Regions from separate parts of the Homo sapiens genome. Here region 1 is linked to region 2. Evidence: promoter capture Hi-C in human tissues and cell types (Jung and others, 2019). All regions are on one chromosome and are shown on one strand. Each heading gives the region's core, a stretch centred on a gene start or on the middle of the fragment in contact. The rest is flanking DNA. Distances are from core to core; before and after follow the strand shown. Region 1 overlaps NDUFS2 (NADH:ubiquinone oxidoreductase core subunit S2). Region 2 holds the start of PCP4L1 (Purkinje cell protein 4 like 1).

Region 1 (3,803 bases), core at 15-2,514, 50 kb before region 2:
CACTTTGGGAGGTCGAAGCAGGTGGATTACTTGAGGTCAGGAGTTTGAGACCAGCCTGGCCAACAAGGTGAAACCCCATCTCTACTAAAAATACAAAAATTAGCCAGACGTGGTGGTGTGCGCCTGTAGGAGAATCACTTGAACCTGGGAGGCAGAGGTTGCAGTGAGCCAAGATGGTGCTACTGCACTCCAGCGCCTGGGCAACAGAGCAAGACTGTGTCTCAAAAAAAAAAAAGATTAAAAAAAAAAACCCTCCCAGATACTCTTAAGACTGATTGCCTTTCTCCTTCAGTATCTGAAGTTTTTTGTTTGTTTTGTTTTTTTCCCTACGGAGTCTCGCTCTGTCGCCCAGGCTGGAGTGCAGTGGCGTGATCTTGGCTCACTGCAACCTCTGCCTCCCGAGTTTAAGCAATTCTGTTTCAGCCCCCAGAGTAGCCAGGATTATAGGCACGCACCACCATGCCTGGCTAATTTTTTTTTTTTTTTTTTTTTTTTTGAGACGGAGTTTCACTCTTGTTGCCCAGGCTGGAGTGCAATAGTGTGATCTTGGCTCACTGCAAACTCCACCTCCCAGGTTCAAGCGAGTCTCGTTCCTCAGCCTCCCAAATAGCTGGGATTACAGGTACTCACCACCACGCCCAGCTAATTTCTATATTTTTAGTAGAGATGGGGTTTCACCATGTTGGCCAGGCTGGTCTCAAACTCCTGACCTCATGAGCCACCCTGACTTGGCCTCCCAAAGTGCTGGGATTACAGGTGTGAGCCACCGCGCCTGACCAGTATGTCAGTTTTTTAAATTTTTATTATTTTTTGAGATGGAGTTTTGCTCTTGTTGCCTAGGCTAGAATGCAGTGGCATAGTCTTGTCTCACTGCAACCTCTGCTTCCTGGGTTCAAGTGATTTTCCTGCCTCAGCCTCCCAAGTAGCTGGGATTACAGGCATGCACCACCACGCCCTGCTAATTTTGTATTTTTAGTAGAGAAGGGGTTTCTCCATGTTGGTCAGGCTGGTCTCAAACTCCTGACCTCAGGTGATCTACCCGCCTCGGCCTCCCAAAGTGTTGGGATTACAGGCGTGAGCCACGTGCCCGGCCAAGGACTCTTGACAGTGGTATCCTGGAGCTAGCTCATACGGGCTTGCAAGAGTGCAGTTGTTAAATTTTCAGGAGTTTTGTGAGCCAGTTGTTGAACATAGCCATTGTCAGAAATTAATTTATATAAGCTTATGATTTAATACATTATATTAAAAGCAAAGGTAAGATTAAATATTCAAAGCTCATCACTTCATTATTTTACCACATTTTACTATGCTCTGCCTTTGAGGTATTTGCTTTGAATGTGTCTGTATGGTGGAAATACTGTATAATGGTGTGGTATTCTTCCCAATGCTGCATTCAGTTACATGATATTGGTAACTTAAAATTGGCCATTGTGGGAGTATTTTTACCATGGAAATTGGCAAACATGACAAATCAGAGTCCTCCCTCACTTTGGAGAGCCAGTTTTTAAACATTTACTAGAATACTACTGGTTTTTGGGATATTTTTACCTGCCTTGTTGGGGCTCCTGAGACTAGAAAGGCTTATACAGCACCAACTTCTGGTGCCGACTGAGAGCAAGGCTTCAGGCAGCCAGACTGTGGGCTCCTGAGCCTGTTAGATGTGACCCACATTCCTCCCTCTTCCCAGGCCCTTCCATACTTTGACCGGCTAGACTATGTGTCCATGATGTGTAACGAACAGGCCTATTCTCTAGCTGTGGAGAAGTTGCTAAACATCCGGCCTCCTCCTCGGGCACAGTGGATCCGAGGTATGTCCCCCCAACTTTTTCTGTGGCCCACTGTGAGCATAGCATAGTGCCTTTTCCACCACTTCCCCGTTGAACCCAAGCTTAGTGTTCAGACCCCAGGCTCTGCCCAGACCTCTCTGTCCGCCTCAGTGCTTGGCTCCTATATCCTGTCTTCTCCTTGTCTTCACAGTGCTGTTTGGAGAAATCACACGTTTGTTGAACCACATCATGGCTGTGACCACACATGCCCTGGACCTTGGGGCCATGACCCCTTTCTTCTGGCTGTTTGAAGAAAGGGAGAAGGTAAGAGTGGGAGGAAAGGATAGGAATAGGGAAGGAAGTGCAGGAAGTAGAGAAGGTATAAAGGAGACAGGAGATTAAAAGAAGAGAGAGAACATGGGAGAACATTTAGAGGGGGAAGGTATGTTTAACTTGGGTTATATTTGTAGAAACTATATCATGAGGGGTTGGTTGGGCACAAGAAGGCAGAAAGTGGGGGAGTAGGCCATCATAGGACCTGGGGGCCTGGGACTTTGACACTAATTCCCAGCACGTTCTATGAAGATGTTTGAGTTCTACGAGCGAGTGTCTGGAGCCCGAATGCATGCTGCTTATATCCGGCCAGGAGGAGTGCACCAGGTGAGCAGGTCCCCGGCTTCCCCAAATGTCCAGCCCAGGCCTATTTTCCCTGTGGCCACTGGAGGGCAGTGCTGGATGATGGAAACTCCAAACCTGTATCGCTGGGGGAGGGGGTGCTGAGAGGGCTCTCCTTAGTGAAGGCTATGCCACATTCAGTAGCACTTCCGTTTGGCTTCTAGGACCTACCCCTTGGGCTTATGGATGACATTTATCAGTTTTCTAAGAACTTCTCTCTTCGGCTTGATGAGTTGGAGGAGGTAAGCTAGGAGTCAATGGGAAAAATCTCTCCCCCACAAGAAGGGCTAGAGAAATACAGAGATATTTGAAGAGTGTGAGGAAGAGTATTAACACACCAGTTTTCTTGATCAATAGTTGCTGACCAACAATAGGATCTGGCGAAATCGGACAATTGACATTGGGGTTGTAACAGCAGAAGAAGCACTTAACTATGGTTTTAGGTGAGGGGAATACAACTTCTCTCCGTAGGAGTGGGGGTGGGAGTGGGGGAGTTCCAGCCTAATATCTTGTCTTTGAAGACTTGTTGGCATCCTCCTAGTCATACCCTGAATGTGAAGGATCAACAAGGGAGGCTAAGGAAGAAGGAGCCTCCTTACTTAGTTTGTGGAGAGTGGCCCTTATTCCCATTATGCTCTCCACAGTGGAGTGATGCTTCGGGGCTCAGGCATCCAGTGGGACCTGCGGAAGACCCAGCCCTATGATGTTTACGACCAGGTTGAGTTTGATGTTCCTGTTGGTTCTCGAGGGGACTGCTATGATAGGTAAGGCCCCAATCCTTTCTTGGCTGATATTCCAGCTAGTTTCCCCTGCCTCACTCTTCTCTTTGCCACTTCCTTCTTTACCCTACTTCTCAGTGTCTGTGGGAGCTCTTGTGTGTGTTAGACGAGGTTGCTCTCAAAACACTTTCACATATATGGAATCTTACTTATTTTTTTCTTTTTTGAGACGGAGTTTTGCTCTTGTTGCCCAGGTTGGAATGCAATGGTGCAATCTCGGCTCACTGCAACCTCCGCCTCCTGGGTTCAAGTGATTCTCCTGCCTCAGCCTCCTGAGTAGCTGGGATTACAGGCATGAGCCACCACGCTCAGCTAATTTATGTATTTTTAGTAGAGACGGGATTTCTCCATGTTGGTCAGGCTGGTCTCAAGCTCCTGACCTCAGGTGATCTACCCGCCTCGGCCTCCAAAATTGTTGGGATTATAGGCGTGAGCCACCACACCCGGCCTATGGCATTCTTTTTATCTTTACATTATCCTTGTCTTAGATGGAGCTAGCTTTGGCTGCATTTTATAGCTGAGAAAGCTGAGGCATAAAAGTTAGGGATTAGCTGGGATTATTCTTCAGGAGTGGTCGAGACTA
Region 2 (3,739 bases), core at 679-3,178:
CCCAAATAGACTCTTTGGCAGCAGTGACTCTCCAAAACCGCTGAGGCCTAGACCTCCTCACTGCTGAGAAAGGAGGACTTTCACCTTCTTAGGGGAAGAATGTTGCTTTTACACTAACCAGTCAGGGATAGTACGAGACTCCGCCCGGTGTTTATGGGAAGAGGCTTCTGAAATCAGACAAAGCCTTTCAAACCCTTAGACCAACCTTCAGAGTTAGGCGACATGGCTTCTCCCCTTTCTAGGTCCTGTGACAGCCATCTTGCTATTACTCGCCTTTGGGCCTTGTATTTTTAACCTCTTTGTCAAATTTGTTTCCTCCAGGATCAATGCCATCAAGCTACAGATGGTCTTACAAATGGAACCCCAAACGAGCTCAACTAACAACTTCTACCGAGGACCCCTGGACCAACCCACTGACCCTTTGGCTGGCCTAGAGAGTTTCCCTCTGGAGGATACTACCACTGCAGGGCCCCTTCGCCCCCATCCAGCAGGAAGTAGCTAGAGTGGTCATCGCCCAATTTCCAACAGCAGCTGGGGTGTCCTGTTTAGAGGGGAGATTGAGAGGTGAAGCCAGCTGGACTTCTGGGTCAGGTGGGGACTTGGAGAACTTTTCTGTCTTACAAGAGGATTGTAAAATGTGCCAATTAGCACTCTGTAGCTAGGATTGTAAAACGCACCAATCAGCACTCTGTAGCTAGCTAGAGGTTTGTAAAATGAACCAATCAGCACTCTGTAAAATGGACCAAACAGCAGGACATGGGCGGTGACCCCAGGAAATAAAAGCTGGCCACCCCAGCCAGCAGCAGCAACGTGCTCGGGTCCCCTTCCATGCTGTGGAAGCTTTGTTCTTTCGCTCTTCACAATACATCTTGCTGCTGCTCACTCGCTCACTGACTCACTCTTTGTGTCCGTGCCACCTTTAAGAGCTGTAACACTCACTGCAAAAATTCCCAGCTTCATTCTGGAAGTCAGCGAGACCAAGAACCCACCAGAAGGAACCAACTCCAGACACAGTAGGATTTGATGAATCCTAAAATGTCTTCCAACTCCTGAGATCTATGATCTTCCACATCAAACAGGCACTTCACAATTTCCCTGTTCTTTGCCAAAGAAAGCTGTCCATTTGCTCCAGTCTCTCTCTCATTCTGTCTCTCTCTCTCTTCCCCCAGCCTTCCTCCCTCTCTTGTGCTATTCTCTGGTCCAGGGTTCTGTTCTTTTTTTTTTTTTTTTTTTTGAGACGGAGTCTTTCTCTGTCACCCAGGCTGGAGTGCAGTGGCGCGATCTCGGCTCACTGCAAGCTCCACCTCCCGGGTTCACGCCATTCTCCTGCCTCAATCTCCCGAGTAGCTGGGATTACAGTCGCCTGCCACCACGCTTGGCTAATTTTTTGTATTTTTAGTAGAGACTGGGTTTCACCGTGTTAGCCAGGATGGTCTCGATCTCCTGACCTTGTGATCTGCCCGCCTCGGCCTCCCAAAGTGCTGGAATTACAGGCTTGAGCCACCGCGCCCGACCTCCAGGGTGCTATTCTACTAGGAAATCTTAATCTGCAACATCTCTTGGCTTTACCCCTTTCATTCACTGTTTCCTGTTTTCCGTGTACCCTCTTGATTTCTTTCCAGGCCTTCTCTTTCTCAGACTCACACACTCCTTCCATTCCACTCCCCACCTTGCCTTCTTCGTGTACATCTCCTTTCTCCCTCTCTTTCTTTGCTCCCCCTACTTCATTTTCCGTCCCCGCATCCCCCGATGGTCTCCCCCTCCTTCCCGCTCTCTGTCTTACCCTAGTTTGGAAATGCAGCAGACCTCTAAACCTGCCAGCATTGGATGCAAGAGGCTGTCATTCTACGGTAGGAGGAGCTTCTATTGGTCGGGCTGGAGGCGGGTACCGAGCTGAGTATAAAAGGTGGGGCCGGAGGCGGCGAGCTGAGCGGCTCTGACAGGACGGGTCGCAGGGGGTCGCCTGGCCGGAGCTGGGCTCCGAGAATCCCGGGTGCCAGCACCAGAGCAGCGGCTCTCCGCACTAACTCTCCTCTCCTGGTCAGCTGTAACCCCTGCCGCAGAGCCCGGCAACTTTCAGCTGTCGCCCGCGGAGCCCCGAGGGCCACTCGCCTCACCTGTGCGTGCAGCGCCTCGCGCGCCCTGTCCGGCTGCGGAGATGAGCGAGGTGAGCGGTGCGGCCCCCGGCGCTGTCGGCAGGGCTGCGGCGGGGAGGGTGCTGCGGCTCGGGATCCCAGGGAGGCGAGGGAGAGCGAGGCAGACCGGAGCCGCGAAGAACCCTCCAGGGGCGCCCCACTGCCCTCCTAGGAAAGCTCCCACCTCGGGGCGCTGGGAAACGATTGGAAGACGGGGTGCTTTCAGTCTCCCTACTGTGGACGGCGCTTTTGGGGGTAATTGGAATCGGCTGTAGAGTCCGGAAGCGGGGATGCTGAGCTCTCAGGTGGTAGGTCATCCCCTCTGGATACTGCCCCCTGCATCTGTCTTACTGCCCGAGATTATTCTGGCTCCCCTTACCCCCCTCACTTCGCTTCTGTCCTCTCTCTCCTAGGGATGTAAGGCACTCACATTCCTTCTGTAGCATCTAACAAGAACTCCATCCCTGGCCCCCGGGGAGGGCCACTGTGCCCCTTTTAGAAAGGTGGCATCCTGCCCTCCACTCATTCAGTCAGGAACGTTGGAGGGACGTGTTCCGGTATTTAGAAGCCCCTGCCAGTTGCTGGGGAGATTTCCCCTTCAAGAATAGACCTCCCTCTGCAGTGCTTGTTACAAACTAGGTCTTCCGGCAGGCTCTGTGGTGTTCACCGTGGCCAGACCCAGGCCATTAACTGATTTACTGTTTTCAAAGAACACTGTTCATGGGGTGGGGGAGTGGGGGGTCAAAGCAGAGACTTTGGAAAGACGTCTCCTATTGTCTATTTGTAGGCACAGTCTCATCTCCAGAAACAAGGATCAGCCTTTCCAAGTGAAGTCAGTCTGGTTAGTGGCATCACAAGCTTGCCCTCTGCAACCTCTTTCCTAGTACCCACATCGTTGTGTTAAATCCAACTCCTCTGCTATATGTCAGATATGTATGTAGGCCAGCTACTTACCTGTGATGTAGCCTTAGGCAAAGTACAAAACCTTTGTTTCATTTTTTGTCTGTAAAATGGGGATAATACTGGTTGTTGTAATAATTAAATGAGATAATATATGCCAAATACTTGAAACAGGACCTGGCACTCAATCTATATTAGCTATTATCTTTCTGTTTCTTTTTTCTTCCTCTCCCATTAGAGTATTACAGAAATTTAACAGAAGAATTCCCAAAGACATTAGATTACTGAAGGAATAGGACCCTGGAGCCTGGGTTCCAGTTTAGATACTAAAAATGAAGATCTCTATGACTCCTACCAAAAGTTGTCACCCAGGGAGCTAATTAGTGCCAACTGCTGTGTTGTCTTGGTTGCCGTGTTCACTAATTTTATCCTGGAAAATTCGGCTAGTCTGGGGGCTGCAGATGAACCAAAGTGGTTTCCAGTCCCTCAGCTGGTTGTGACTCTGATGATGGCAATCTTTCAGAAAGAAAAGAAAAAAACGCATCAACCTCCTCTTTCACCTCTAATGTGGGAAGAGAGGTTTTCTTTGCCCCTTTTCACTGAGGTCTAGGGTTCATACTACTCCTCCCACCCCGAGCATTTCTAAATCTGAAAGTTGTAATCCAAGCCATCCCCTGGGAGTTTGTGATCTGAAGGCTATGCCA

The links. Contacts are between HindIII fragments. The study calls those that stand out against the background at their distance.
Region 1: a fragment that was not itself captured here is called in contact with the fragment with the promoter of PCP4L1 in region 2 in 1 of the 25 tissues and cell types used here (liver).

Annotation. Positions count from the first base shown.
Region 1 is chr1:161,207,506-161,211,308 of GRCh38, forward strand. NDUFS2 (NADH:ubiquinone oxidoreductase core subunit S2) reads left to right here. Exons shown (of 14, transcript NM_001377299.1): 4 at 1,688-1,808; 5 at 1,978-2,090; 6 at 2,352-2,426; 7 at 2,606-2,683; 8 at 2,799-2,884; 9 at 3,086-3,205. Among named protein-coding and RNA genes, the nearest start is that of FCER1G, 5.9 kb to the right of the region's middle. The HindIII fragment of the contact is 3,202 bases long and covers 1-2,865 here.
Region 2 is chr1:161,256,817-161,260,555 of GRCh38, forward strand. PCP4L1 (Purkinje cell protein 4 like 1) reads left to right here and starts at 1,929. Exons shown (of 3, transcript NM_001102566.2): 1 at 1,929-2,167. The coding sequence starts at 2,159. RefSeq lists an enhancer at 2,297-2,797. The HindIII fragment of the contact is 11,379 bases long and covers 1-3,739 here.